Linked DNA regions of Homo sapiens: regions 2, 3, 4 and 5 are each linked to region 1. The links are contacts of gene promoters, found by promoter capture Hi-C in human tissues and cell types (Jung and others, 2019). All regions are on one chromosome and are shown on one strand. Each heading gives the region's core, a stretch centred on a gene start or on the middle of the fragment in contact. The rest is flanking DNA. Distances are from core to core; before and after follow the strand shown.

Region 1 (6,158 bases), core at 3,230-5,729:
ACTCATTTTCTACAGCCAAAATGGGAAAGACATTTCCCCTATTCTTTTTCTTGGTAGCATTCTTAAACAGCCTTGAAATTTTATTGGAAATTACCAAGCCATAAAAAATACACCTGACACTGATGAAAGAAATCATAGATGGCACAAACAAATGGAAACAAATCCCACGCTCATGGATAAGTAGAATCAATATTGTGAAAATGACCATACTGCCAAAAGCAATCTACAAATTCAGTGCAATCCTTATCAAAATACCACCATAATTCTTCACAGAATTAAAAAAAATTCTAAAATTCATGTGGAACAAAAAAGAGCCTGCGTAGCCAAAACAAGGCTAAGCAAAAAGAACAAATCTGGAGGCATAACATTACCTGATTTCAAACTACACTATAAGGCCATAGTCACCAAAACAGCATGTTACTGGTTTAAAAATAGGCACATAGACCAATGGAACAGAATAGAGAACCCAGAAATAAACCCAAATACTTACAGCCAACTGATCTTCAGCAAAGCAAACAAAAACATAAAGTGGGGAAAGGACACCCTTTTCTACAAATGGTACTGGGATAATTGGCTAGCCATATGTAGGAGAATGAAACTGGATCCTCATCTCTCATCTTATACAAAAATCAACTCAAGATGGATTAAGGACTTAAACCTAAGATCGGAAACTATAAAAATTATAAAACATAACATTGGAAAAACCCTTCTAGACATTAGATTAGGCAAGGATTTCATGACCAAGAACTCAAAAGCAAATGCAATAAAAACAAAGATAAATATCAGGGACCTAATTAAATTAAATAGTTTTTACACGGCAAAAAGAACAGTCAGCAGAGTAAACAGACAACACATAGAGTGAGAAAAAATCTTCACAATCTATACGTCTGACAAAGGACTAATATCTAGAGTCTACAACAAACCCAAACAAATCAGTACAAAACAAACAATCCCATCAAAAAGTGGACTAAGGATATGAATAAACAATTCTCAAAAGAAGGTATACAAATGGCCAACAAACATATGAAAAAATCCTCAACATCACTAATGATCAGGGAAATGCAAATCAAAACCACAATGCGATACCACCTTACTCCTGCAAGAATGGCCATGATCAAAAAATCAAGAAACAGTAGATGTTGGCATGGACGTGGTGAACAGGGAACACTTCTACATTGCTGGTGGGAATGTAAACTAGAAAAGCCACTATGGAAAACACTGTGGAGATTCCTTAAAGAACTAAAAGTAGGATTACCATTTGATCCAGCAATCCCACAATTGGGTATCTACCCAGAGGAAAAGAAGTCATTATTCGAAAAATATACTTGCACACGCATGTTCATAGTGGCACATTTCACAATAGCAAAATCATGGAACCAACCCAAATCCTCATCAATCAATGAATGGATAAAGAAACTGTGGTATATATATACAATGGAATACTACACAGCCATAAAAAATGAATTAACAGCATTTGCAGTAACCTGGATGAGACTAGAGACTATTATTCTAAGCAAAGTATCTCAGGAGTTGAAAACCAAACATGGTATGTTCTGTTATGTGGGAGCTAAGCTATAAGGATGCAAAGGCATAAGAATGATACAATGGACTTTGGGGATTTGAGGGGAAGAGTGGAAGGGGGACGAGGGATAAAAGACTACAAATTTGGTGCAGTGTATAATGCTCTGGTGATGGGTGCACCAAAATCTCATAAAATAGGCTGGGCGCGGTGGCTCATGCCTATAATCCCAACACTTTGGGAGGCCATGGCGGGTGGATCACTTGAGATCAGGAATTTGAGACCAGCCTGGCCAACATGGAGAAACCCCGTTCTCTACAAAAAATACAAAAATTAGCTGGGCATGGTGGCACGCCCACCTGTAATTCTAGCTACCCGGGAGGCTGAGGCAGAAGAATTGCTTGAACCCGGGAGGCAGAGGTTGCAGTGAGCCAAGATTGTGCCATTGCACTCCAGCCTGGGCAACAAGAGCAAGAGTCCATATTAAATATAAATATAAATACATATATATTTGATTATATATATATTCACAAAAAATACATCTGAGAAAATTCCTAAACTTACTCTAAGAAAGGAAAACTTAAATGAGAATTTCTCACAAATAAAATACATGATTAATATTAATTTTTTCTGAAATCCACCTCTTTTATGCCCTCTGTTAATATTTTCTTACCTTCCAAGTCCTATTAATAAAATGCAATTTACAGTTAAATAATGGAAGTCAACATAAGTGAACAAATCTTTTCAAGGTGACAAACCCAGGGAGTGGTAGTGCTAATTAGAAAACAGATGTGTCTAGACCGGGCGCGGTGGCTCACGCCTGTATTCCCAGCACTTTGGGAGGCCGAGGCGGGCGGATCACCTGAGGTCTGGAGTTTGAGACCAGCCTGACCAACATGGAGAAACCCCATCTCTACTAAAAATACAAAAACATTAGCTGGGTGTGGTGGCACATGCCTGTAATCCCAGCTACTCGGGTGGCTGAGGCAGGAGAATCGCTTGAACCTGGGAGGCGGAGGTTGCGGTGACCCGAGATCGTGCCATTGCACTCCAGCCTGGGCAACAAGAGTGAAACTCCACCTCAAAAAAAAAAAAAAAGAAAAGAAAGAAAACAGATGTGTCTGACTGATATTCACCCACCCCATTCTGCTCACCTTAAGTGCTCAATAACCACCCTCTCAGGAGACATTACACTATGCCCCAGGTGCATTTTACTTTGTAAGTTCTTGCACCATCTCACTTGGGTCAGGTTTTTCTTTGTCTTTTGGGATACTTTTTTTTTTCCACAAAATTTAGAGAATTCAGGGGGCAGAAATTATTTCTGTGTTTTCCCCTCAATACCAGCATCTGATTGGCTGACCAGCACTGTGTCTCCAAGAAATGGAAGCTGGGTTGGGTGAAGACAATCTTAATGTCTCAAGGGGTTAGCTTTTCAAAGGAAGAGTATGCCAGGAGATGCCTCTCAGCCCCAGGGCATCCACCTGCTCCCTTGAGAAGCTACACTCCATACCTCAGGTTGTCCTCAGGGAGAAAAATGACCCAGGAGCTGATATTCACTAGACACTCTAGCAGAAAAAGTCATGATGTGTATCTTGGTTTACTCCAGACAGTACTGAAACCCAGGACCAGGAAAAAACTGAAGGGTGGCTGAAGACACATCACTCCGTAAAGTTTCCAAAGAAAAACCTTCACCTGAAAACAAACATTCTGATAAGATTTCTGTGCCTGAGGAAGATAAAAAAAAAAAAGCCATAGAAATTTCATAAAATACAGTGTCAGGGAATTATTTTTTGCTTTCTTCTCATGAGAAATATTTTCAACCAGAAAACAATTTTAAGTGCCATCCAATGCTTTGTCAAAAAATGATTAACTAAAATACAGTATCAAAAATGTACACTAAAGGAAAAACAGTTGAGAATGTGAATTAGGAAAGGCAAGCTGGCATTTGGAAATGTCAGAAGGAACTAGAAATTTAGTATTTTAGTTTATTTGCAGTTTAAATCTAACTGCAGGCCAGAGTTAGGCTGGAGGAATGGGGCTGGGAGGTACACTTGAGACCCCGCTTGGAACGCATGTGAAAAATGCAGGGGAAAATCAGTCCCCTGTGGAGTGTGAGAATAATTAAGTGGCAGGCAATTACACTGAGGAGGCTCTAGTCCCCGGCTTTCTACTTAACAGCAACAGCTACGTAAATGTACCTAACCGATTATTAAATATAGTTTTCTTCATCATGCACCTTATAAAAAGTCTTTCCTTCAAGCTCCTCCCATGAACCACAAACTACAAAACATACTTTTGTGCTCTACAATTATTGAATCACTCTTTGATTAAATTCTTTAATATTTTTTGCGATGACTGCCACAGATTTTTAATAGGAGAAAATAGGAACCGGGAACCCCACAGACCAAAGCTCTTCCCATTCATGAACCCGACCCCAAGTCAGGATTCTCCCCTGACCACCCTCCCATGGTCCCTGCACAATCTGGGAGAGGCGCGGCGCTGCCGGTGCAGAGCCGCCCAGAGAGGGCTGCAGGCCAGGGCACAGTCACTGCGCAGGGAAGAGACAGGACGCCCGGGGGCCCGGCTGTCGGCGCAGCCGCCATCTTATGGCTGAAGGGGACTGAGGCCGAGCTAGGCAAGGAGAACTCGGAGCGCAGATTGTGGAGATGACTGCGGGGAGTCCTGAGTCCCGCCACAGCCACTTCCCACAGGTTTCAACCAGCCCTTCCCCTCTCTCGGGATGTCGGACGGCACTCTCACCATTTCTAGGCTTCCAGAGGGTCCTGGAGTCTTAGCTGTGGATCTCCCAATACCTGCAGGTCACAGAGCCACAGAGTCTGGGCCTCTAGGAGCAGAGGACAAACAGCAGTGAAGACGAGACCGGAGCTCCGGCTGCAGCAAGAGACAAAGGCCGCGCCAAACCCGGAAGCCGCCCTGTCCGGTCCAGCTGCGTGTCTGAGTGAACTGTCCCCAGCTCAGAGTCCCTGATTGGATAATGTTAAAACCCGCCCCTTCAGGCCCTGAGGGACGGAAGATGTGATCAGATGCTGGGCTGAATGAAGTGTGACAGCCTATGCTGCAGCCTTTTCAGGCAAGGCTTCCTCCCTGAGCTGAGCCAGGCCCACCCGAGAGGGTGTTTGCCTTTAATCTTGTGTATAAGGTCATATGCCCTTATAAATAATATGCTATATGGCTATTCACAAATGAAAAGAATATAATAACCCAATTGTTCTAAAAAAAATTTTTTTTTTGAGATTGAGTTTCACTCTTGTTGCCCAGGCTGGAGTGCAATGGCGCGATCTTGGCTCATCGCAACCTCCACCTCGCGGGTTCAAGCGATTCTCCTGCCTCAGCCTCCCGCGTAGCTGAGATTACAGGCATGCGCCACCATGCCCGGCTAATTTTTTTGTATTTTTAGTAGAGACGGGGTTTCTCCATGTTGGTCAGGCTGGTCTCAAACTCCAGACCTCAGGTGATCCTCCCGCCTCGGCCTCCCAAAATGCTGGGATTACAGGCATGAGCCACTGCGCCCGGCCCAACTGTTCTAAAATTTTATATTTTGTGACCTTCCTGACTTCTGGTCCTTTGAGCAGGCAGCCTGAGATTTTAAAAAGGAGGCAATTCTCTGAAATAAAATGTGAGCCACAAGTTGGGCGCTGTACCTCACGCCTGTAATCCCAGTACTTCGGGAGGCCGAAGAGGGTGGATCATCTGAGGTTCAGAGTTCGAGATCAGTCTGGCCAACATGGTGAAACCCCGTCTCTAAAACAATACAAAAAAATTAGCTGGGCATGGTGGCAGGCGCCTGTAATCCCAGCTACTTGGGAGGCTGGGGCAGGAGAATCGCTTGATCCTGGGCGGTGGAGGTTGCAGTGAGACGAGATCACGCCACTGCACTCCAGTATGGACAACAAGAGTGAAACTCTGTCTCAAAAAAAATAAATAAATAAAATAAAATCATAAAATGTGAGCCACATGTAAATTTTAAATTTTCTAGTAGCCAAACTTTATTTTATATTTTTATTTTTTTAGACGGAGTCTCACATTGTTGCCTGGGCTGGAGTGCAATGGCGCGATTTCTGCTCACTGCAACCTCTGCCTCCCGGGTTCAAGCGATTCTCCTGCCTCAGCCTCCCAAGTAGCTGAGATAAAAGGCGCTGGCCACCATGCCCGGCTAATTTGTAGCCAAACTTTAAAAAGAGTTTAGCTCTATTTTTAAAAAGAAACAAAGAACAGGTGAAATTGATTGTAACAATTTAACCCAATATATCGAAAATATTGTCATTTTAATATGTGAGAAATATGTAATTATTAATGAAGTGTGTCTATATATATGGAACTAAACCTTTGAAACTAACTCGTATTTTACCTTTCTAGCACATCGCAGTTCAGACCAGGCGCATTCCAGGCAGCCAGTAGCAACACAGGGCCAATAGCTGCTACATTGAAGTGCAGCTCTGACATCAGGAGGGTGAACGACCTGAACATCCCTTTTCTGCCGGAGGTGAGGAGAGAGCCTCTCCCTACCAACATCTCTCTTCGGTTCTGAGGGTAGAACAGACAGTGGTCATAGACAGAGCAGAGGGCAGGCCGGGCGGAGTGGCTCACGCCTGTAATCCCAGCACTTTGGGAGGCCGAG
Region 2 (6,158 bases), core at 1,263-3,762, 240 kb after region 1:
TCCCCATTGGCCAGGGTCGGGTCGTACAATCTGAACTAATCCTGGTTGGCTAAACATTTGATTTTTTTAGATAAGGTGGGCATGCAAAAGAATGCAGAGAGGAAGGGGAAGGGGTGTCTGCATTGAGCTAGAAAGTTAGTCCTCTTTCCAAATAAGGGAAGAAATGTGAGCTGGTACTGATAATGCCTGGTACTGTGGCGTGCCTGGGCATCTAACAAAGGCAGAAAGGAAAAAGGAGAAAAAGGAAAAAAAGGGGTGTGTGTGTGGGTACTATGAATTAAAGAATAAAAGATTGATCAGGCTATTTGAAGAGAAACCTCATCGTATCCCACATGCCCGACATGAGGGAACAGCCTCTTTCTACTAACATCTGTCTTCAGTTTCAAGGGTGGAACAGATAGTGGTCATAGAAAGAGCAGAAGGTAACAAGAATAAAATAACCACAGGTAGACCACTGAAGAATGATGGGGCCACAGGAGAACAAAACTCTATGTCTTCAGACCTGTCCACAGTATTGACCTCCAATTTTTAGATATGAAGAAAATAGATTAAAGGCAAACTTTGGCTATTTGGCCTTGGCCATAATGGTCAGGCTCTGGTCATCGGTTTTTTCCTGTGGTGTGGGGGACTGTGTGCATATAAGCACCAATCACATGCATACATGTCTACAAGTATTCCTGCATCAGTCAACATTGCCTTACAAGACATTTAACTTTAAATCGGGAAAAATGTCAGTACCTTTAGGGTGCCCATTGTTAGAAGGTGACTAATAATCAAACTGTCTTTAAATCTTGACACCCAATCTGCACTGGGTGCATGTATTAGTTAGGTATGGCAGCATAACAAATCATCCAAAACTTATTAGCTCATAATTGAGATGGTCCGCCATTTAGGCTAGGCTCAGTGGGGCCATTCTTCTGTTCCCAGCTGAGCTCCTTCAGACATGTATTGTCAGCTGTTTGTTGACTAGGCAGCTGTGCTTCTGGGAGTGAGCTTGTGCTTCAAGATCTGTCAACAGGGGCACCTTGCTACTCCTCCTCGTGGTATTTTATCCTCTAGGTGGCTAACATGGACTTTATTGATGGAGACAGCAGCATTCTGAAAGAAAAGCAGAAGCATTCAACACCATTTGAGCCCAGGCCCCAAACTAGCCCACTGTCATGTTCACAAGTATCTAGTGCCTTGAACAAATAAGGCCAGCCAGATCTAGGGTTGGGAAAACAGATTCTGTATCTCAATGGGAACAGCTGTAAGAGCACCTGCCAATAGGCATGGATAGGAGGGATGAAAAATTGCTACCATTTTTGCAATCAATATCATTATGCCTTTTTTGCATATGTGGTTTATACAACTCTTTCGCATCAAGAAACTTGTCCAAAGACTCACAGCTACTAAATGGCTGGCCTGAGACTCAGTACCAACTCTTCTGACTCTAAAGCCCATGCATCAAACTCTTGGCTGCTGTAGATCCTTGAAATCCTGGAGAGAGATGCTGCTACAGTAAAAGCCAGATTTTTAAAAAATGTATGCCCATATAGCACTATTTATGATTGGGAATAATCCTTTCAAGAAATTGCAGAAGCACAGGGTGCCTCACACCTGTAATCCTAGCATTTTGGGAGGCTGAGATGAAAGAATCACTTGAGTTCAGGAGTTTACGTGCAACCTGGGCAACATAGTAAGATCCTGTGTCCGTGAAAAAAAATTTAAAAATTGGCCAGTCATGATGTTGCATGTCTGTCGTCTCAGCTCTTCGGGTGGCTGAGGCAGGAGGATTGGTTGAGCCTGAAGTGTTAAGGTTGCTGTGAGACATGATTGGTTGCACCACTACACTCCACCCAGAGTGATACAGAGAGACACTGTCTCAAAAAAATTGCAGAAGCATTTGAATGGACATATAATAATTTTGAAAAATAGCTGAGGAATGAGTTTAGAAAAATCAAAGCCCAAGAACACATTATTTATTTTCATCATAGAAAAAAGAAAAAGAAACTTTAGAGAAATTAAATTTATCAGAGTTTAATTGAGAAAAGAATGATTTGCAAATTGGGTAGCCTGTGTAGGCTCAGAGAGTCTCCAGCATAGCCACATGGTGGTAAAAAATTTATGAACAGAAAAGGCAAATTGACATGCGGAAAATGGAAGCCAGGTACCGAAACAGTCAGATTGATTACAGCTTGGGAGTTGCCTTATGGTTTGAACAGTTGACGTCATTTTACTGGCCAAAACACATTGATTGGTACAAGAATGGGTACAGTCTATTTACATATCCAGGTAGGTTTCAGTTTAGTATTTTAAATAAAAACGACCAAAATTAAACGTGAAAGGGGGCAGCTTTATGGTGTAATTAATTTAATAATTTGTCCTTTTGGTCATCTTAATTTTGAGAGATAGACCAAAACTTTAGACATTGGCCGGGCGTGATGGCTCATGGCTGTTATCCTAGCATTTTGGAAGGCCGAGGTGGGTGGATCACTTGAGGTCAGGAGTTTGAGACCAGCTTGACCAACATGGTGAAACCCCGTCTCTATTAAAAATACAAACCAATTAGCCAGGCCTGTTGGTGAGTGCCTGTAATCCCAGCTACTCAGGAGACTGAGGCAGGAGAATTTCTTGAACCCGGGAGGAAGAGGTTGCAGTGGGCTGAGATCGCGACACTGCACTCCAGCATGGGCAACAGAGCGAGACTCCATCTAAAAAAAAAAAAAAAACTTGGATATTGATATTACTCTCTCACTATAAAAGAAGTACTTATTTAGTCTGAAATCCCACTGTGAAATAGCATAACTGTGGATTTTTTAAAGTAGAAACAAGGACTTCAGGTTATTATTATTTTATTATTATTATTTATTTTTAAAAGAGTAGAGGGAAACTCCTTGTGTTGAAATGTGCTGTTTACCAAAACAAACAGACAAACAAACCTCATCTGTTTTAGGATGTACCTATTTTCTTTTTTCTTTCTTTTTGTTTTTGAGATTGAGTTTCACTATTGTTGCCCAGGCTGGAGTGCAATGGCGCCATCTCAGCTCACTGCAACCTCCACCTCCCGAGTTCAAGCAATCCTCCTGTCTCAGCCTCCCAAGTAGCTGGGATTACAGGCATGTGCCACCACGCCCGCCTAATTTTGTATTTTTAGTAGAGATGGGGTTTCACTATGTTGGTCAGGTTGGTCTTGAACTCCAGGCGTCAGGTGATCCACCCACCTCAGCCTCCCAAAGTGCTGGGATTACAGGCATGAGCCACTGTGCCCAGCCCTACCTATTTTCTGAAATTTTCAATTTGATTATGTCACATTTAGCATGAGTGACTTACTTTTTTTGTTTTGTTTTTCTGTTTGAACCTAGTGCAGAAGTTAAGAATGATGGCCTCCGATAAATTTGTTTAAAAAATTCTCCCATTTTGGCAAAGTTCTCACATAGATCAGAGTGTAAAAAACTCACGATCTTAGTGCCACTGTCAATTTCCATTATTTTTGGGTTTTGTCCATATTATGTCATTCATAGGTTATGGTGTCTCCATAGTCACATATGTCTCAATTGTTGTCATTCTAGTTAAAGAGAGACCATTTGTCATTCTAGAGATGACTCATGCATGATAACATTTAAAACTTTTGAGCTGAGGTGGAAGGATTACTTGAGCCCGGGGGTGGAGGTTGCAGTGAGCTGAGATCACACCCCTGCATTCTAGCCTGGCTGACAGAGTGAGACCCTGTCTCTAAAATGCAATGCAACGCAACGCAACGCAACGCAACGCAACGCAATGCAATGCATAAAATAGCCTCAACCATGTTCCAACAATTACTTTCTTTTTTCTTCTCCAACAATAACCATAACCTTTTTTTTTTTTTTTTGAGACAGAGTCTTGCTCTGTCACCCAGGCTGGAGTGCAGTGGCGCAATGTCGACTCACTGCAACCTCCACCTCCCAGGTTTAAGAAATTCTCTGCCTCACCCTCCCAAATAGCTGGGATTACAGGCACGTGCCACCTCGCCCATCTAATTTTTTTGTATTTTTAGTAGAGATGAGGTTTCATCATCTGGGCCAGGCTGGTCTTGTACTCCTGACCTTGTGATCCTCTTGCCTCAGCCTCCCAAAGTGGTAGGATTACAGGCGTGAGCCATTGCACCTAGACAATAACCATAATCTTAAGAGTTAACATTGTAGATCAATTTTGTGTTTTTATTCAAGTGTTTTGTTACAAAAAATTAAACATATGCAAAACAACAACAACAAAAATAATTTAATAGACCTATCATGAAGCTTCAACAACTACTAATCTTGTGCCATTCTGGTTTCACCTATTCTTCTCTACTTCGGTCATCCCTGGCCAACCCATTGTCCACCCTTCATTATTTTCTTCAGTTTTGTTTTTTGTGACGTCATATGTACATACATTGGAAGGCACAAATCCTAACTGAAGATTTTTGACAAATAAATACACCCATATGACCTTCATATCTTTTAAGAATAAATAGAATGTTTCCCTTCTCTATTAATAGAATTTATAATAAAATGATAGAATATTCTTATTATTCTCAGATAATTCCCTCCTGCTTTTTTCAGACAATTTTAATCTCTACCGAGGCTACTTGGTATTTTTTTTTTTTACCATTAGTTCATTTTTCCAGACATTATACAATTTGTATTATTTTATTTCAAGCTTGTCTCAGCAGGTTTATGAGATTCATCCAAGGTGTGTGCTTCAGTTTGTTTCTTTCTATGGCTGAGTAGCCTTCTCTTGTATGAATGAGCTATGATTTGTTTATTCATCTTCCTAGACATGGACATTTGGGTTGTTTTCTGCTTTAAGCTATTATGACTAAAAGGTCTATAAACATTCTGGTACAAATACTTTTTCATATATAATTTAATTTCTTTACTAGCATTTAAATGACAACTCTTTACATTTTTTAGTGGTTTCTTTAGGGATAACCATATGCATCTTTAACATATCACAATCTACCTAGAGTTAATACTGTACAATTGTAATAAATGTAAAATATGAAGACCTTGCTATGGATGAGCTTTACTTACCTCCTTTTATTTTTATGCTATTCATAAATTTTACATCTACACATTCTATATCTCACAATACTTACAATTTCTCCTTTAGTCATAAGTCTTATAAAGAAATTAAGAGAAAATGGTATTATAAATATTTGGAGGCAGATATTTTGGGCTATGTAAATACACTGTTTCTCCTTTAAATTTTACCCACAATTTGTGCATTCTTTAATACATCTTTATCTACAGTAATTATTACTGTGGTGTCCTGGTAGTGATTTCCTATTTTGCATTATCTATCTACATTGATTAGTACTTAGAATTCTGTTAAGAAGATTTGCTTTGGCCGGGCGCGGTGGCTCACGCCTGTAATCCCAGCACTTTGGGAGGCCGAGGCGGGTGGATCATGAGGTCAGGAGATCGAGACCACCCTGGCTAACAAGGTGAAACCCCGTCTCTACTAAAAATACAAAAAATTAGCCGGGCGCGGTGGCGGGCGCCTGTAGTCCCAGCTACTCGGGAGGCTGAGGCAGGAGAATGGCGTGAACCCGGGAAGCGGAGCTTGCAGTGAGCCGAGATTGCGCCACTGCAGTCCGCAGTCCGACCTGGGCGACAGAGCGAGACTCCGTCTCAAAAAAAAAAAAAAAAAAAAAAAAAAGATTTGCTTTTTCTCTTTCTTCTTTCCTTTTTTCTTATTATATTTTGTCTATATCTGCATGGACTCATGTATAGCTCTTTTATTCTCTAGGTTATAATCCAAGGGTATTATTATTTTGTTTCTCACATTGTTTCAGCTTGGGCTGCTGGAAACTCTTTCAGGTTCACTTCCTCTGACATGTCTCTTTCTGTTGTTCATAAAGCACTTTTTAACTTTCTAGCTTTACAAAATACTCTACCTTAAGTTTGATTTTTCACTCCAGTCCCAGAATTATCTATTTGTCCAAGTAGTGTTGCTTCCTTCTATTGAAGAATAGTACTTAGGAACCATAATATGAGAGCTAGGTATTCTTATTAATACTGGGGTGTTACTGCTTCTGAAAGCTCTCAGCAGACAGAGTTTGGAAATGTACATATTAATATACACTCACATATAAAAACATCTCTTCCTTTCTCTTTCTCTGTGTCTCCCTCTCTCTGAATGAATAAATTATGAGA
Region 3 (6,158 bases), core at 1,023-3,522, 230 kb before region 1:
AGCAATTTTCTTGCCTCAGCCTCCCGAGTAGCTGGGATTACAGGCATGCGCCACCACTCATGGCTAATTTTATATTTTTAGTAGAGATGGGGTTTCACCATGTTGCCCAGGCTGGTCTCAAACTCCTGACCGCAGGTGATCCGCCCGCCTCAGCCTCCCAAAATGCTGGGATTACAGGCTGAGCCACCACGCCCAGCTTGTTTTTTTTTGTTTTTGTTTTTTTGTTTTTTTATTGGCCACATAATCTTCCATCATGTTTACATACCATACTTTGTTTTTATTAAATCTTCTATTTTATTTAATTAATTAATTTTATTTGGAGACAGTGTTTCACTCTGTTGCAAAGGCTGAAGTGCAGTGGTGCAATCTTGGCTCACTTCAGCCTCAACCTTCCAGGCTCAAGGCACCCTCTTCAGCCCCCTAAGTAACTGGGACTACAAGCATGCACCACCATACCCAGTTAACTTCTTTTTCTATCGTTTGTAGAGATGGGGTTTTGTCATGTTGCCCAGGCTGGTCTTGAACTGTTGAGCTAAGGTAATCCACCTGCCTCGGCCTCCCAAAGTGCCGGGATTACAAGTGTGAACCACCTCACCTGACCATACCTTATTATTTTAATCTAGTCTACATTAATAGGCAATTAGATTTGTTCCATGTTTTTGTTTTTTGTTTGTTTGAGACGGAGTCTCACTCTGTTGCCCAGACCAGAGTGCAGTGGCACCATCTCAGCTCACTGCAACCTCTGTCTCCTGGGTTCAAACGATTCTCCTGCCTCAGTTTCCTATGTAGCTGGGACTACAGGCACATGTAACCACACCTGGCTAAATTTTGTATTTTTAGTAGAGATGGTGTTTTGCCATATTGGCTAGGCTAGCCTCGAACTCCTGACCTCAGGTGATCCACCAGCCTCAGCCTCCCAAAGTGCTGGGATTACTGGCATGAGCCACTGAGCCCAGCCCATGTCTTTGTTATTGCAAACAGTGTTGTAATAAACATGCATATGCATGTGTCTTTATGGTAGAATAGTTTATATTTCTTTGGATATATACTCAATTTGGAGGTTGCTGGGTCAAACAGTAATTCTGTTTTCAGTTCTGTGAGGAATCACCACACTGCTTTTCACAATGGTTGAACTAATTTACCCTCCCACCAGCAGTGTATAAACATTCCATTTTCTCTGCAACCTTACCAGCATGTTACTGACTTTGGTTTTTGAGACAGTCTCACTCTGTCACCCAGGCTGGAGTACAGTGGTGTGATCTCAGCTCATTGCAACCTCCACCTCCTTGATTCAATAGATTCTCATGCCTTAGTTTCTGGAGTAGCTGGAACTACAGATGTGTGCCACCAAGCCTGACTAATTTTTGTATTTTTAGTAAAGATAGGATTTCTCCATATTGGCCAGGCTGCTCTCAAACTCATGACCTCAAGTGATCTGCCTGCCTTGACCTCCCAAAGTGCTGGGGTTACCGCACCCAGCCTGTTACTTTCTAACAACAGCCATTCTGAATGGTGTGAGATGGTGTCTCATTGTGGTTTTTGTTAGTTTGTTTTTGGCATTTCTGTAGTGATTAGTGGTGAGCATTTTTTGCACATGCTTGTTAGCCACATGTTTGTCTTCTTTTGAAAAGCATCTGTTCATGTTTTTTTGCCTACTTTTTAATGAAGTTTTTTTTTCTGTAAACCTGCCTAACTTCTTTATGAATTCTGGGTATTAAACCTTTGTCAGGAACATAGTTTGCAAATATTTTTGTTTATTTGGTATGTTGTCTGTTTACTCCATTGATAGTTTCCTTTGCTATGAAGAAGCTCTTTAATTAGGTCCCTGTTGGGAAAAAGCTGGGTGTTGGGAGGGAAACTGAGGCAGGCCTTGCATAATGTCCTCTGGAATGTGTCTAGACCTGCTGGCTCCTTGCTTCTAGCTTTCCTAGGTTCCTATTCCCATTATCTCAAGTAGCAGAACATGTTCCTTATAATGCTAAACCATCACAGCTGTAGATCATGCGCCTGCTCTTTTGACCTCCACGTTCTCACCACCTGTTTCTTTGTTGGATTATCAGTAAATACCGTGGGCTCCCAGAGCTCAGGGCCTTCACAGCCTCCATAATGGTGATGGCCCCCTGGTGTTCCATCTTTTATTTTTTTTTTGAGACAGAGTCTCGCTCTGTCACCCAGGCTGGAGTGCAGTGGTGTGATCTCAGCTCACTGCAAGCTCCGTGTCCCGGGTTCACGCCATTCTCCTGCCTCAGCCTCCCGAGTAGCTGGGACTACAGGCGCCCGCCACGACACCCAGCTAATTTTTTTTTTGTATTTTTAGTAGAGATGGGGCTTCACTGTGGTCTCGATCTCCTGACCTCATGATCCGCCCGCCTCAGCCTCCCAAAGTGCTGGGATTACAGGCGTGAGCCACCGCGCCTAGCCTGGTGTCCCACCTTTATATCTCAAACTGTCTTTTTTCTCAATCCTTTGACTCCACCGGACTTTGTCACCCCCACGACCTGATGTTGGGTCTGATCACCCCAAGAGGTCCCATTTGTCAATTTTTGCTTTTGTTGCAGTTGCTTTTGGTATCTTCATCATGATACATGTAGATACGTGTGGTAAGACAGTGAAACTCCAGGGCCTCATATGACTCTATGGTGAGGCCAGAATCAAGTATGAAGGCTTCAAGATACATTCCTGAGAGTTAAGTGCCACATTTGCACTAAAGGGTGGCTTCAGGACCTGTTCTGTTTGGGTTTGGTAGGGACAGGGCAGTGGCCCATATTTTCATATTTTCATTACTGTAGTAGAAATTGTTGGTGTCTGTGGCAGGGGAGGGCACCTGTGGACGGTAAAAGAGGAACATATATTTTTATTTCCGTGGAGCAACTCATTGTTCCTGAATCTCTTCTGTTATAAAGGAGAAAGATGAGTGGACTTTTTGGTCTTGGTCCTTCTGTCTGTGAGTGTGAGGCTAGTAGGTAAGCAGGTGGTGCTGATGCCTTTAAGGGACTTGTCTCAAGATGCAGGTGTTACTTGTCCAGAGAATTTTATCTGAAAAGGATTTCTAGAGGAGGAGAAAGAGGAAAAATGCTTCTTTTCAGCTAAACATATCTCAGATCAAGAGCTGTGTCCACTCTGCCTCCTGGAGTGCCATGAGTTTAGTACTTGCAAACCTTTACTTCTCTACTTCTGTTTTCCCTCCCCAATGATTTTGTTTCACATACTTTTAAAAATTCTTGTGATAGTCAAGGATCTCTAAAAAATATTTCTATCCTATGTACGAGAGCCTTCTCTACATCATGGCTTCTTATATGCAATGCAGAATTCCTACCATGAATTTATGATCTGCCATATTAAAAGTGTTCCTTTTGTGGCTGCTGAACATGGGAAGATGTGGATACTCAAGATTCCTATTGGGGGAAAGCTGGGGTCCTTAGTAAAGATGGAGAACATATAATGTTGAGGTGTCGCTTGTGTTCTCCATTAGCTCTATGCAGAACAGGATTAAGAATATGCTTATTTAAACAGGATGGCATTTATTTATTTATTTATTTATTTTTATTGTTTGAGACAGAGTCTCGCTCTGTTGCCCAGGCTAGAGTGCAGTGGCGCAATCTCAGCTCACTGCAAGCTCCGCCTCCTGGGTTCATGCTTTTCTCCTGCTTCAACCTCCCAAGTAGCTGGGACTACAGGCGCCCACCACCACACCCGGCTAATTTTTTGTATTTTTAATAGAGACGGGGTTTCACTGTGTTAGCCAGGATGGTCTTGATCTCCTGACATCATGATCCGCCTGCCTCAGCCTCCCAAAGTGCTGGGATTACAGGTGTGAGCCACCACGCCCGGCCTGTTCAGGATAGCATTTATTACCCAGGAAGTTCTGGAGAAAATTATTCAGAGATACCTGCTTTCTAGGATGCTAAAGAAAGGACTACTTAAAATCATTACTAAAAATTATAGAACATGGGAGATATCTTGACCTTCGCATGAAACTGATTTTTTCTTTATGGTTAAATTCAGTCTATAATTGACTTTTTGAGGGGCAATATCTCAGCAGTGATGTTGTGTTCTTCTTTGTGCATCAGCACATCATAAAAATTTATTCTAGTGTTGTTGATGTTAATAATTTGCTTGGTTAAAGAGCTCTCTGACTTTTTTTCACTATAGAGTTAATTGTTTTTCTCTTTATTGTTAAGTATCTTTATGTAGCTAATAAACTATCACATTTAATCTGGCACCTGCCCTTTTTTCTTAGGTTTTTTTGTTTGTTTTTTGCACATATGTGTCTTTGGAAAATGAAGGCTCTTATCTTTGTTTACAGACCAAAAAAGTTGGGAAAAACACAATCTCTTTCACTTACTGAATGTCTGACAAAATAGTCTTCTGGGGTCAAAAACATTGGCATTGCTAGTAACCTTGTTAGAATTTTAAAAACTCAGACTTTATTCCAGATCTTCTGGGGAAAAAAAAAAAAAGCTTCACAACAGGATCTCCAGTTTATTGTACATATTTAAATTTGAGAGGTACCATCTAACTCAACATGTCTTTTTTTGTCTGAAAAATATACACAACTCATTATGATGTAAATATAGCACTCAAAAATGTATACGTTTGTGTCCTTAATTATATTCTTTATCATCCAGAAAAGTATTATATATGCACTGGTGTTGTGGATCTTATGCCATTCTCTGCCCTCAGAGTAATACATTAGAGAATATTTCTGTGTTAAAAATTATTGGATAATTTCAGTTATTCTTATAAGTCAACCAATTCTCTTTACTCTCTCATTTCACCTTAATTCAAATAATAAATTCTGCCCATGGCCACTTGGTAAATATACGTGTGTCTGTGCGTATGTGTTTTTCAGGAGACGTTGACATTTAGGGATGTGGCCATAGAATTCTCTCTGGAGGAGTGGGAATGCCTGAACCCTGCTCAGCAGAATTTATATATGAATGTGATGTTAGAGAACTACAAAAACCTGGTCTTCTTGGGTGAGAATAACTTTAATACATAAGTCTTAATATACCCTAAACGTTTTATGTCTCTTTTTTTGTAGAATTTTCTTTGGTAATTTATGCTTTGTATAAATGAGTTTCTGATCCCAGTTTTCAAGAAAATCTTGATGATTTGTCTCTGTAGAAAAGAATTTCTTCAACATGTTTCATCCTGACCTGAACTTTCCACATTCCTGAGCTGATCTGCATCCTTCACTCTAGATTAGTGGTAATTCCAGAAATTTGGTGGCATAAAATATTGCCCGTATCTTAAAATCTATTTTCCACTGTCAATTTTTGATTCATGAGTACCAGGTAGTGAAATTAAGGACCTACAAATTTAAAATATTTTCTAAATAGTTAGAGATGTGTCTCATTAATTAGTATTTTAGGATTAATTTTCTAAAATATTCTATTATATCCTTTTTACTGAGCACAGTACTAGGTTGGTAACTAGAGAATATAAGCAAGATTTATGCTATTTACTTTTAATAAAGCAGGTATTGCTGTCTCTAAGCAAGACCCGATCACCAGTCTAGAGCAAGAAAAAGAGCCCTGGAATATGAAGATATGTGAGATGGTGGATGAATCCCCAGGTAGGTGAGAGTGAACACAACAGATGACACAGATGAGAGGTACAAAGGTAAAAAAAAAAAAAAAGCAAGCCGGCCCTTACAATGTGATTTGGGAAGCTGTTTTGCAAAGTATATAGTTTCTGGGAAGACTGAATATTTTCTTAAAATTTTCTCTCACTAAAGGGCATCTTCTGTCTTATGCTTTTAAATTCTCTAAGAATTTTCCTTTTCCTTGGGTGAACACACAAATATCTGCATAATTTTGAAAAACACTGTTTTTTTTTGTTTTGTTTTGTTTTGTTTTTTGAGACAGAGTTTCGCTTTGGTTGCCCAGGCTGGATTGCAGTAGCGTGATCTCAACTCACTGCAACCTGTGCCTTTTGGGTTCGACGATTTTCCTGCCTCAGTCTCCTGGGTAGCTGAGATTACAGGCGCCTGCCACCACACCCAGCTAATTGTTTTGTATTTTTAGTAGAGACGGGTTTTTACCATGTTGGCCAGGCTGGTCTTGTACTCCTGTCCTCAAGTGATCTGCGCACCTAGGCCTCCCAAAGTGCTGGGATTACAAGTGTGAGCCACCGTGCCCAGCTGGAAAACTCTA
Region 4 (6,158 bases), core at 2,413-4,912, 220 kb after region 1:
ATTTGATTCTTCTCTCTTTTCTTTATTAGTCTAGCTGGCAGTCTATGTATTTTGTCTATGTTTTCAAAAAACAGCTCCTGGATTCATTGATTTTTTGAAGGGTTTTTTGTGTCTCTATCTCCTTCAGTTCTACTCTAATCTTAGTTATTTCTTGTGTTCTGCTAGCTTTTGAATTTGTTTGTTCTTGCTTCTATAGTTCTTTTAATTGTGATGTTAGGGTGTTGATTTTAGATCCTTTCAGCTTTCTGATGTGGGCATTTGGTGCAATAATTTTCCGCTTAACACTGCTTTAGCTGTGTTCCAGAGATTCTGGTACTTTGTCTCTTTGTTCTCATTGCTTTCAAGGAACTTCTTTATTTCTGCCTTAATTTTTTCTTTTTCTTTTTTTTTTTTTTTATTGATCATTCTTGGGTGTTTCTCACAGAGGGAGATTTGGCAGGGTCATAGGACAATAGTGGAGGGAAGGTCAGCAGATAAACAAGTGAACAAAGGTCTCTGGTTTTCCTAGGCAGAGGACCCTGCGGCCTTCCGCAGTGTTTGTGTCCCTGGGTACTTGAGATTAGGGAGTGGTGATGACTCTTAACGAGCATGCTGCCTTCAAGCATCTGTTTAACAAAGCACATCTTGCACCGCCCTTAATCCATTTAACCTTGAGTGGACACAGCACATGTTTCAGAGAGCACAGGGTTGGCGGTAAGGTCATAGATCAACAGGATCCCAAGGCAGAAGAATTTTTCTTAGTACAGAACAAAATGAAAAGTCTTCCATGTCTATTTCTTTCTACACAGACACAACAACCATCCGATTTCTCAATCTTTTCCCCACCTTTCCCCCTTTTCTATTCCACAAAACCGCCATTGTCATCATGACCCGTTCTCAATGAGCTGTTGGGTACACATCCCAGATGGGGTGGTGGCCGGGCAGAGGGGCTCCTCACTTCCCAGAAGGGGCGACCGGGCAGAGGCGCCCCCCACCTCCCGGACGGGGTGGCTGGCCGGGCGGGGGCTGACCCCCCACCTCCCTCCCGGACGGGGCGGCTGGCTGGGCGGGGGCTGGCCCCCCACCTCCCTCCCGGAAGGGGTGGCTGGCCGGGCGGGGGCTGGCCCCCCACCTCCCTCCCGGATGGGGCGGCTGGCCGGGCGGGGGCTGACCCCCACCTCCCTCCCGGATGGGGTGGCTGCCAGGCAGAGACGCTCCTCACTTCCCAGACGGGGTGGCTGCCGGGCGGAGGGGCTCCTCACTTCTCAGACGGGGCGGCTGCTGGGCGGAGGGGCTCCTCACTTCTCAGACGGGGCGGCCAGGCAGAGACGCTCCTCACCTCCCAGACGGGGTCGTGGCCGGGCAGAGGCGCTCCTCACATCCCAGATGGGGCGGCGGGGCAGAGGCGCTCCCCACATCTCAGACGATGGGCGGCCGGGCAGAGACGCTCCTCACTTCCTAGATGGGATGGCAGCCGGGAAGAGGCGTTCCTCACTTCCCAGGCTGGGCAGCCAGGCAGAGGGGCTCCTCACATCCCAGACGATGGGTGGCCAGGAAGAGACGCTCCTCACTTCCCAGAAGGGGTGGCGGCCGGGCAGAGGCTGCAATCTCGGCACTTTGGGAGGCCAAGGCAGGCAGCTGGGAGGTGGAGGTTGTAGCGAGCCGAGATCATGCCACTGCACTCCAGCCTGGGCACCATTGAGCACTGAGTGAACGAGACTCCGTCTGCAATCCCGGCACCTCGGGGGGCTGAGGCTGGTGGATCACTCGCGGTTAGGAGCTGGAGACCAGCCCAGCCAACACAGCGAAACCCCGTATCCACCAAAAAAAATACGAAAACCAGTCAGGCACGGCGGCGTGCGCCTGCAATCGCAGGCACTCGTATTTCTGCCTTAATTTTATTATTTACCCAGTAGTCATTCAGCAGCAGATTGTTCAATTTCCATGTAGTTGTGCAGTTTGGAGTGAATTTCTTAATCCTGAGTTCTAATTTGATTGCACTGTCATCTGATAGACTGTTTGTTATGATTTCAGTTCTTTTGCATTTGCTGAGGAGTGTTTTACTTCCAATTATGTGGTTGATTTCAGAATAAGTGCTATGTGGCACTGAGAAGAATGTATATTCTGTTGATTTGGGGTGGAGAGTTCTGGAGATGTCTATTAGGTTCGTTTGGTCCAGAGCTGAGTTGAAGTCCTGAATATCCTTGCTAATTTTCGGTCTTGTTATCTGTCTAATATTGACACTGGGGTGTTAAAGTCTCCCACTATTATTGTGTGGGCATCTAAGTTTCTTTGTAAGTTACTAAGAACTTGTTTTATCAATCTGGGGGCTCCTGTATTGGCTGCATATATATTAAGGATAGTTAGCTCTTCTTGTTGCATTGATCCCTTTACCATTATGTAATGCCCTTCTTTGTCTTTTTTGATCTTTGTTGGTTTAAAGTCTGTTTTATCAGAGACTAGGACTGCAATCCCTGCTTTTTTTTTTTTCTTTCCGTTTGCTTGGTAAGTAAATATTCCTCCATCCCTTTATTTTGAGCCTATGTGTCTCTCTGCATGTGAGATAGGTCTCCTGCATACAGCACAGTCTTGACCCTTTATCCAATTTGCCAGTCTGTGTCTTTTAATTGGGGCATTTAGCCTATTTACATATAAAATTAATATTGTTATGCGTGAATTTGATCCTGTCATCATGATGCTAACTGGTTATATTGCACATTAGTTGATGCAGTTTCTTCATAGTGTCATTGGACTTTATAGTTCGATGTGTTTTTGCAGTGGCTGGTACTGGTTTTTCCTTTCCATATTTAGTGCTTCCTTCAGGACCTCTTCTAAGGGAGGCCTGGTGGTGACAAAATCCCTCAGCATTTGCTCGTCTGTAAAGGATTTTCTTTCTCCTTTGCATACGAAGCTTAGTTTGGCTGGATATGAAATTCTGGGTTGAAAATTCTTTTGCTTTTTTTTTTTTTTTTTTTTTTGAGATGGAGTCTCGCTCTGTTGCCCAGGCTGGAGTGCAGTGGCATGATCTTGGCTCACTGCAACCCCTGCCTGTCAGGTTCAAGTGATTATCCTGCCTCAGCCTCCAGAATAGGTGGGATTATAGGTGCCTGCCACCATGCCTGGCTGATTTTTGTATTTTTAGTAGAGATAGGATTTCACCATGTTGGCCAGGTTGGTCTTGAACTCCCAATCTCAGGTGATCCACCCTCCTTGGCCTCCCAAAGTGCTGGGATTACAGGCGTGAGCCCAAAAACCGGGCGTGGTGGCGTGCACCTGTAATTTCAGCTACTCGTGAAGCTGAGGCAGGAGAATCGCTTGAACCCAGGAGTTGGAGGTTATGGTGAGCCAAGATCGTGCCATTGCACCCCAGCCTGAGCAATAATCAAAACTCTGTCTCAAACAAACAAAAAAGAATATTGAATATTGGCTCCTACTCTCTTCTGTCTTTTAGTGTTTCTACAGAGTGTTCTGCTGTTAGTCTGATAGACTTCCCTTTGTAGGTAACCTGGCCTTTCTCTCTGGCTGCCCTTAACATTTTTTCCTTCATTTCAACCTTGGAGAATCTGATGATTTTGTGTCTTGGGGTTGCTCTTCTCGAGGAGTGTCTTAGTGGTGTTCTTTTTATTTCCTGAATTTGAACGTTGGCTTGTCTTTCTAGGTTGGGGAACTTCTGGATAATATCCACATCACTTTCAGGTACACCAATCAATCATAGGTTTGGTTTTTTTACATACTCCCATCTTTCTTGGAGGCTTTGTTCATTCCTTTTTGTTATTTTTTCTCTAATGTTGTCTTCACGACTTATTCTATTGAGTTAATCTCCAGTCTCATATCCTTTCTTTCGCGTGATTGATTTGGCTATTGATACTTGTGTATGCTTCGCAGAGTTCTCATGCTGTGTTTTTCAGCTCCATCAGGTCATTTATGTTCCTGTCTAAACTGATTATTCTAGTTAGCAATTCCTCTAACCTTTTGTCAAGGTTCTTAGCTTCCTTGCATTGAGTTAGAGCATGCTCCTTTAGCTCAGAGGAGTTTGTTATTACCCACCTTTTGAAGCCTACTTCTGTCAATTCGTCAATCTCATTCTCCGTCCAGTTTTTGTTTGTTTGTTTTTTTGAGACAGAGTCTCGCTCTGTCGCCCAGGCTGGATTGCAGTGGTGCAGTCTTGGCTTACTGCATCCTCTGCCACCTGGGTTCAAGCAATTCTCCTGCCTCAGCCTCCCAATTAACTGGGATTACAGGCACCTGCCACCATACCCAGCTAATTTTTGTATTTTAGTAGAGACAGGGTTTTACCATCTTGGTCAGGCTGGTCTTGAACTCCTGACCTCAAGTGATCCACCTGCCTCAGCCTTGGCCTCCCAAAGTTCTGGGATTACAGGCTTAAGCCACTGCACCCAGCCTGCTCCATCCAGTTTTGTGCCCTTGCTGGAGAGGGGTTGTGATCATTTGAAGGAGAAGAGGCATTCTCATTTTTTGAATTTTCAGTGTTTTTGCACTGGTTTTTACTCATCTTCATGGACTTATCTACCTTTGATCTTTGAGGCTGATGACATTGGATGGGGTTTTTGTGTGGTGGTCCTTTATGTTGATGTTGATGTTGTTGCTTTCTGTTTGTTAGTTTTTCTTCTAACAGGCCTCTCTTCCGCAGGTCTGTTGCAGCTTGCTAGAGGTCCACTCCAGACCCTGTTCACCTGGGAATCACAAATAGAGGCTGTAGAATGGCAAAAATTGCTTCCTGCTCCTTCCTCTGGAAGCTTCATCACAGAGGGGCACCAGCCTGATGCCAACCGGAGCTCTCCTGTATGAGGTTTCTATCGACCCCTGTTGGGAAGTCTCTCCCAGTCAGGAGGCACAGGGGTCAGGGACCAACGTGAGGAGGCAGTCTGTCCCTTAGCAGAGCTGACGTGCTGTGCTGGGAGAATCCCTCTTGTCAGGGTCACCTGCTCTCTTCAGAGCCAGCAGTCAGGAAGGATTAAATCTATGGAAGCTGTGCCCACAGCAACCCCTTCCCCCAGGTGCTCTGTCCCAGGGAGATGGGGATTTTGTCTGTAAGCCCCTGACTGGGGCTGTCTCCTTTCCATCCGAGATGCCCTGCCCAGCGAGGAGGAATCTAGAGAAGCAGTCTGGCCATATTTTGGCAGCCCACAAATCCTCCCAGCCTCCTTAGCACTAGAAAACTGCCTACTAAAGCCTCAGTAATGGGGGATGCCCCTCCCCCCACCAAGCTCGATCATCCCAACTCAACTTCAGACTGCTGTGCTGTCAGTGAGAATTTCAAGCCAGTGGTTCTTAGCTTGCTGAGCTTCATGGGATTGGGACCTGCTGAGCGAGACCACGTGGCTCCCTGGCTTCAGCCCCTTTCTAGGGGAGTAAAGGGTTCTGTCTTGCTGGGGTTCCAGATGCCACTGTGGTACAAAACAAACAAACAACAACAACAAAGCAAAACTCCTGCAGCTAGCTTGGTGTCTGCCCAAATAGCCACCCAGTTTTGTGCTTGAAACCCAGGGCTGTGCTGGTGTAGGCACACCAGGGAATCCCCTGATCTGCAGATTGCAAAAATCATGGGGAAAGGATAGTAACCTGGCCGGGTAGCACAGTTCCTCACGGCTTCCCTTGGCTGGGGGAGGGAGGTCCCCCAGCTCCTTGCACTTCGTGGGTGAAGCGATGCCCCACCCTGCTTCTGCTCGCCCTCCATGGGTTGTACCCACTGCCTAACCAGTCCCAGTTGGATGAACTGGGTACCTCAGTTGGAAATGCAGAAATCACCTGTCTTCTGCATGGGTCTCGCTGGGAGCTGCAGACTGGAAATGTTTATTTGGCCCTCTTGACCCTGTCCCCCAAATCATCTTTTATTTTTATTTCATCCAAATAGCTGCTATCTTTTTTTTGTACATCTTTGCCTAAATTATAATAAGAACAACGATCTAAATTTGCATAGCAAGTGGACCCTATATTTGGAATTTAAAGAGTTTCTGGCAAAATTTAGATTAAATTGGCTAATTAATAACACTTTTCAAATTGCTTTCCCCTGCTCCAATAATGAAGTATAACTTCTAGAAACAGCTGAAAAATGAATTGTTCTTCGGGTTATATGCTCTTAATGTTACATTGAAACAGAGTATGAAGGCTTGAAAATATCCGAAGGGAGAAAATGGAATCAGCAGTGATCCTGCTGT
Region 5 (6,158 bases), core at 1,390-3,889, 210 kb before region 1:
CAGTTTCTGGAAAGGCCCCTAGAAGCAAGTAATATAGATGTATGTGCCAGTATTTTACTTGTTTATTAAAAAAGAAACCAAAAGTTAGCAATTTACTTTGAAAGGCAGTATGTTATATTGTTGAGTAGGAAGAACTGTGTTGGGCAAAGGTAATGGACTTTTCTTTTTCTTCTGTGTCTTTGCATTCCTGTGTACTCATCTGTGTACTCACCTGGGGAACTTTACATGCTTATTTATAAGTTTTCCTTATGTATTTTGGTCAGTATGCTTTTATTACATTTATATGTCTATGAAGGATTTAGGGCCTGTGGTATTTTATTATGGCATCTTGCTTATGTAGTTTGTATAATATAGGTTAGATTTGTAAAGTATGTTTATCAGAGTCTAGTAAGTTGAATAATTTGTTGTTTGTATTTCTTTCAGCTATGTGTTCTTCTTTTACCAGAGACCTTTGGCCAGAGCAAGACATAAAAGATTCTTTTCAACAAGTGATACTGAGAAGACATGGCAAATGTGAACATGAGAATTTACAGTTAAGAAAAGGCTCCGCAAATGTGGTTGAGTGTAAGGTGTACAAAAAAGGTTATAATGAACTAAACCAGTGTTTGACAACTACCCAGAGCAAAATATTTCCATGTGATAAATATATAAAAGTCTTTCATAAAATTTTCAATTCAAATAGACACAAGACAAGACATACTGGAGAGAAACCTTTCAAATGTAAAAAATGTGATGAATCATTTTGCATGCTTTTACACCTACATCAACATAAAAGAATTCATATTAGAGAGAATTCTTACCAATGTGAAGAATGTGACAAAGTGTTTAAGCGGTTCTCAACCCTTACTAGACACAAGAGAGTTCATACTGGAGAGAAACCCTTCAAATGTGAAGAATGTGGCAAAGCTTTTAAGCACTCCTCAACCCTTACTACACATAAGATGATTCATACTGGAGAGAAACCCTACAGATGTGAAGAATGTGGCAAAGCCTTCTACCATTCTTCACACCTTACTACACATAAGGTAATTCATACTGGAGAGAAGCCCTTCAAATGTGAAGAATGTGGTAAAGCTTTTAACCACCCTTCAGCCCTTACTACACATAAGTTCATTCATGTTAAAGAAAAACCCTACAAATGTGAAGAATGTGACAAAGCTTTTAACCGATTCTCATACCTTACTAAACATAAGATAATTCATTCTGGAGAGAAATCTTACAAATGTGAACAATGTGGCAAAGGCTTTAACTGGTCTTCAACCCTTACAAAACATAAAAGAATTCATACTGGAGAGAAACCCTACAAATGTGAAGAATGTGGCAAAGCCTTTAATGTGTCTTCACACCTTACTACACATAAGATGATTCATACTGGAGAGAAACCCTACAAATGTGAAGAATGTGGCAAAGCCTTTAACCACTCCTCAAAACTTACTATACATAAGATAATTCATACTGGAGAGAAACCTTACAAATGTGAAGAATGTGGCAAAGCTTTTAACCAATCCTCAAACCTTACCAAACATAAGATAATTCATACTGGAGAGAAACTCTACAAATGTGAAGAATGTGGCAAAGCTTTTAACCGATCCTCAAACCTTACTACACATAAGAGAATTCACACTGGAGAGAAACCCTACAAATGTGAAGAATGTGGCAAAGCTTTCAACCGATCCTCAAACCTTACTAAACATAACATAATTCATACTGGAGAGAAATCTTACAAATGTGAAGAATGTGGTAAAGCCTTTAACCAATCCTCAACTCTTACTAAACATAGGAAAATTCAGCAGGGCATGGTGGCTCATGCCTGTAATCCCAACACTTTGAGAGGACTAGGTGAGCAGATCGCGAGGTCAGGAGTTCAAGACCAGCCTGGCCAACATGGTAAAACCCCATCTCTACTAAAAATACAAAAATTTGCTGGGTGTGGTGGCAGGCGCCTGTAATCCCAGCTACTTGGGAGGCAGAGGCAGGAGAATCATTTGAACCTGGGAGGCAGAGGTTGCAGTGAGCCAAGATCGCGCCATTCTACTCCAGCCTGGGCCACAAGGCAAGACTCTGTCTCAAAAAAAAAAAAAAAAAGAAAAGAAAATTCATACTGGAACGAAACCCTACAATTGTGAAGAATGTGCCAGTGCTTTCAACCAGTCCTCGAACCTTTTTAAGAAAATAATTTATACTGGAGAGAAATTCTACAAATGTGAAGAATATGGCAAAGCCTTTAACCAGTCTTCAACTCTTACTAGGCATTAAAAATTCATACTGTACAGAAACCCTACGAGGGTGAAAAACATGGCAAAGCCTTTAACAAGCCCTCAATTCTTAACAGACATAACATAATTCATACTGGAAAGAAACTCTGCAAACCAGAAAGATCTGGCAATGCTTTTGACAACACCTCAAACTTTTCTAACCATAAAAGAAATTATACTGGTGAGAAATCTTAGAAATCTGAAGAATGAGACAAAGCCTTTAAATGGTTGTCACACTTGATTGTAGGTAAGATAATTCATACTGGAGAAAACACCTACATGTGTGAACAATGTGGCAAAACTTAACCAGTGCTCACACCTTATTGCACAGGAAAGCATTTGTACTTGAGATAAATTATACAAATATAAAGACTGAAAAAGCCATTAATATATGTTCATATCTCAACACCAGATAGTTCATACTTAATAAAAGCATTATAAGTACAATTACTGTCAAAAGACCTTTCAGAAAATACAAGCTTTTGACCAGGCGTGGTGGCTCAGGCCTATAATCCCAGCACTTTGGTAGGCCAAGGCAGGTGGATCATGAGGTCAGGAGTTTGAGACCAGCCTATCCAAGATGGTGAAACCCCATCTCTACTAAAAATACAACAATTAGCCGGTTGCGGTGGTGGTGCCTGTAATCCCAGCTACTCAAGAGGCTGAGGCAGGAGAATCACTTGAACTTGGGGAGGGAGAGGTTGCAGTGAGCTGAGATTGCACTCTAGCCTGGGCCACAGAGCAAGACTCCATCTAAAAAGTAAAAAAAAAAGAAAATATGAACTTTACAGTGAAGAATATTTATTTTGAAGATGAATGTTACAAATATAAAGTGGGTAGTAGTGCCTTTACTTGTATCACAGATCTTATTGTAGACATTTTTTGTAGAGGAAAAACTCTGAAGCACTTTCACACTTTGTTCAATATCAGGGAATTTATATTGAAGAAAAATCATGCAAATGTAGTAAATTTGGAAAAACACTTTTTCAAAAACTACAGCTTAGAAAACAGAGTTCATACTAGAATATATTTTTGCAGATGCAGTAAAAGTTAAAAAAAATTTAATCCATAAGTAAGTCTGTGTAAATATCAGAATTTATGGTAGAAATACATAAGGCACTGACAACATCAGATATACTAAATCAGAGGGCTGAGTATAGAAAATTAAAGTTGGTAGAAAAATTATTTGTATATAACTTTAAGAGGATCAGAAGGTTTTTTGCAGTTATAATTACATTCAAAGTATACTTTATTTCTTGAAAAATATTACAGATTTTTTGAAAAGTGAATAATGATGTCATTCAACTCTGAAATTCCTGCCGTTTCTTCATTCCTATTGGATTCACATGTGAAAGCATGGGATCAATTATTGCTGTATCAAAGATATGAAAGATTCTTTCTTTGTTTTGTTCTGTTTTTTTGAGATGGAGTTTTGCTCTTTCGTCCAGGCTGGAGCACAGTGGCATGATCTCGGCTCACTGCAACCTTCAATTTCCAGTTTCAAGCGATTCTCCTCCCTCAGCCTCCTGAGTAGCTGGGATTACAGGCGCATATCACCACGCCCAGCTAATTTTTATGTTTCTAGTACAGACAGGATTTCATCATGTTGGCCAGGCTGGTCTCAAACTCCTCACCTTGTGATCCACCCACCTTGGCCTCCAAAGGTGCTGGGATTACACAGGCATGAGCCACTGCTCCTGGCAAGAGATTCTTTTTTATTAGGTGGGCATTATTTGTGATCTTTTCTATTGAAAAGTAAAAACATTAGAATGTAAGATGCATAATGAAAATGTAAGTGGAGAGGTTCTTTGGGGTTAACTTATAATATTGAGTGGTGCATGAGGTTGGTGTTCAGAGTAATATTCTGCATTATGAAAAAACATTTAATTTTATTTAAAATTTAGTTTATCATACTAATTGTACTTTTATATAAGATGCAGTACATTTTTAAAATTTTAGATTGTGTGAAGTTAATAGTTTAACATTTTTAACATGTTAAATACTATTGTGCATTCAATGAAGCATTATTATACCACAAACTTTACCCTGTTCCACCTTACTGAAGGGTATAGGTAAAAGATGGTAACGATATACTATTTAGTAACATAATGGATTAACATCTCTAGTAATTTTTTTTGCCAGTGGCTTTAAACCGCAAATAAGTTAAAGAATATTGTTTCTGTAGGTTAAATTTTTATTTTGTTTTTAATCATTTAAATTTAATTTTGGTGGGTACATAATATGAGTATATATTTATGCACTTATATGGCATATTTTAGTACAGGAATACAATATATAATAGTAGCATCAGGGTTAAGTGAGGCATCCTTCACCCATAGCATTTCTCCTTTGTTTTACAAACAATCCAAACCTACACTTTTTAAAAATTTTTTGTTGTTGTTGTTCTTGTTGTTGTTGAGACGGAGTCTCGCTCTGTCGCCCAGGCTGGAGTGTGCAATCTCGGCTCACTGCAAGCTCCACTTCCCGGGTTCACGCCATTTTCCTGCCTCAGCCTCCCAAGCAGCTAGGACTACAGGCGCCCACCACCATGCCCGGCTAATTTTTTGTATTTTTAGTAGAGATGGGGTTTCACCATGTTAGCCAGGATGGTCTCAATCTCCTGACCTCGTGATCTGGTCTCGATCTCCTGACCTCATGATCTGCCTGCCTTGACCTCCCAAAGTGCTGGGATTACAGGCATGAGCCACCGTGCCCGGCCACTTTTTATAAATTTTAAAATGTACAATTGTTATTTACTATAGAGTTATTTTTATGGTCATAATACAAATTATATATGAGTATAAATAAAATTCATTTCTAAACTATTAATATTTTTTCCAAATTGTTATATATTTTTCTTTGAACATGTGGCCTGTCTGCCTGCAAACATGCAGACTTTTTGATTCACATAGAGTTAAATATGTATTAGTCTAAAGACAAACTTTAGGTGTAAGAAAATTATGGAATAAGTGTGTGTGTGTGAGTATGAGTTTGTACCTATTTTCAGAAAAGAACAATATGGGAATAAAAATCATTTTAATAAGGTGGCTACTATAAAACTAAAAACCTTAAAAAATGCTGAAAGCAAATGTATACTTTGTGCTTTGTATTGAATTTATTACTGTACAATCCATGACTTACAGTTCTGAACCTTTTCATGCAAATTCTCTGTATATACTTGCCTGGTACTCATGCTAGACCCATACTTTTTTTGTTTCTTACATTTTTTTTGTTTTATGGTTTAGGAAGTATTCATTATATGAGCTGGTCTGTGATTATAAGAATTTTTATGAAATTTAGTGCACACAAAATAATTTTTAGATGTAATTCCAAAAGTAGTGTATTAAGTTACATTTTATTTAGTGAGAGCACTCCATTTTGTTCTTTTAAGGGGAGAACAATATATAAGTTTTCTTTTCTTTAGTGATTGTTCCTTTCACTTTTTATAATTGACATAAGTATATTTATTTATTGAGTCAATTTGTTCAGGTAAGTACTGGGGGGCTTCATAAGTCATGAGGATGTTTTTATATATAAATGTAGCAAACATACATTACAGTTCTTACTGTGTAATCGATGCTCCATAATAATTCACAAATATTCCTGCTGGAGTTAGTTTGTAATTTCAAGTCAGAAATGAAAGATATCAGTGGTGAAGAAATAAGATTGATTCTTCATATGGAGTGGACATTTTTTCCAGACTATAAAACTGAATCTTGCTGAATTTAAAGAGAAATTCTGGCCGAGGCAGATGGATCACCTGAGGTTAGGAGTTTCAGACCAGCCTGGTGAAACCCGGTCTCTACTAATAAACTACAAAAATTAGCTGATTGTGGTGGCATCCACCTGTAGCCCAGCTACTCAGGAGGCTGAGGCAGAAGAATTGCTTGAACCCAGGAGGCG

The links. The method cuts DNA at HindIII sites, captures the fragments that hold promoters and counts their contacts. A contact is called where the count stands out against the background at its distance.
Region 2: a fragment that was not itself captured here is called in contact with the fragment with the promoter of ZNF708 in region 1 in 1 of the 25 tissues and cell types used here (aorta).
Region 3: a fragment that was not itself captured here is called in contact with the fragment with the promoter of ZNF708 in region 1 in 1 of the 25 tissues and cell types used here (IMR-90 fibroblasts).
Region 4: a fragment that was not itself captured here is called in contact with the fragment with the promoter of ZNF708 in region 1 in 1 of the 25 tissues and cell types used here (pancreas).
Region 5: a contact is called between a fragment that was not itself captured here and the fragment with the promoter of ZNF708 in region 1, in 1 of the 25 tissues and cell types used here (spleen).

What each region holds. Positions count from the first base shown.
Region 1 is chr19:21,324,931-21,331,088 of GRCh38, forward strand. ZNF708 (zinc finger protein 708) reads right to left here and starts at 4,480. Exons shown (of 4, transcript NM_021269.3): 1 at 4,280-4,480. The coding sequence starts at 4,282. RefSeq lists enhancers at 2,423-2,944, 4,033-4,232, 4,273-4,452, 4,337-5,325 and a silencer at 4,572-4,793. The HindIII fragment of the contact is 12,621 bases long and covers 1-6,158 here.
Region 2 is chr19:21,570,442-21,576,599 of GRCh38, forward strand. LOC101929007 (a long non-coding RNA gene) reads right to left here. Exons shown (of 4, transcript XR_007067176.1): 4 at 1-1,098. Among named protein-coding and RNA genes, the nearest start is that of ZNF429, 68 kb to the left of the region's middle. The HindIII fragment of the contact is 3,893 bases long and covers 567-4,459 here.
Region 3 is chr19:21,093,333-21,099,490 of GRCh38, forward strand. ZNF714 (zinc finger protein 714) reads left to right here. Exons shown (of 5, transcript NM_182515.4): 3 at 4,853-4,979; 4 at 5,480-5,578. The coding sequence starts at 4,937. Among named protein-coding and RNA genes, the nearest start is that of ZNF714, 14 kb to the left of the region's middle. The HindIII fragment of the contact is 7,827 bases long and covers 1-6,158 here.
Region 4 is chr19:21,550,280-21,556,437 of GRCh38, forward strand. No RefSeq gene overlaps it. Among named protein-coding and RNA genes, the nearest start is that of ZNF429, 48 kb to the left of the region's middle. RefSeq lists an enhancer at 1,099-1,880. The HindIII fragment of the contact is 4,940 bases long and covers 1,193-6,132 here.
Region 5 is chr19:21,116,384-21,122,541 of GRCh38, forward strand. ZNF714 (zinc finger protein 714) reads left to right here. Exons shown (of 5, transcript NM_182515.4): 5 at 424-6,158. The coding sequence ends at 1,949. Among named protein-coding and RNA genes, the nearest start is that of ZNF431, 23 kb to the right of the region's middle. The HindIII fragment of the contact is 5,159 bases long and covers 61-5,219 here.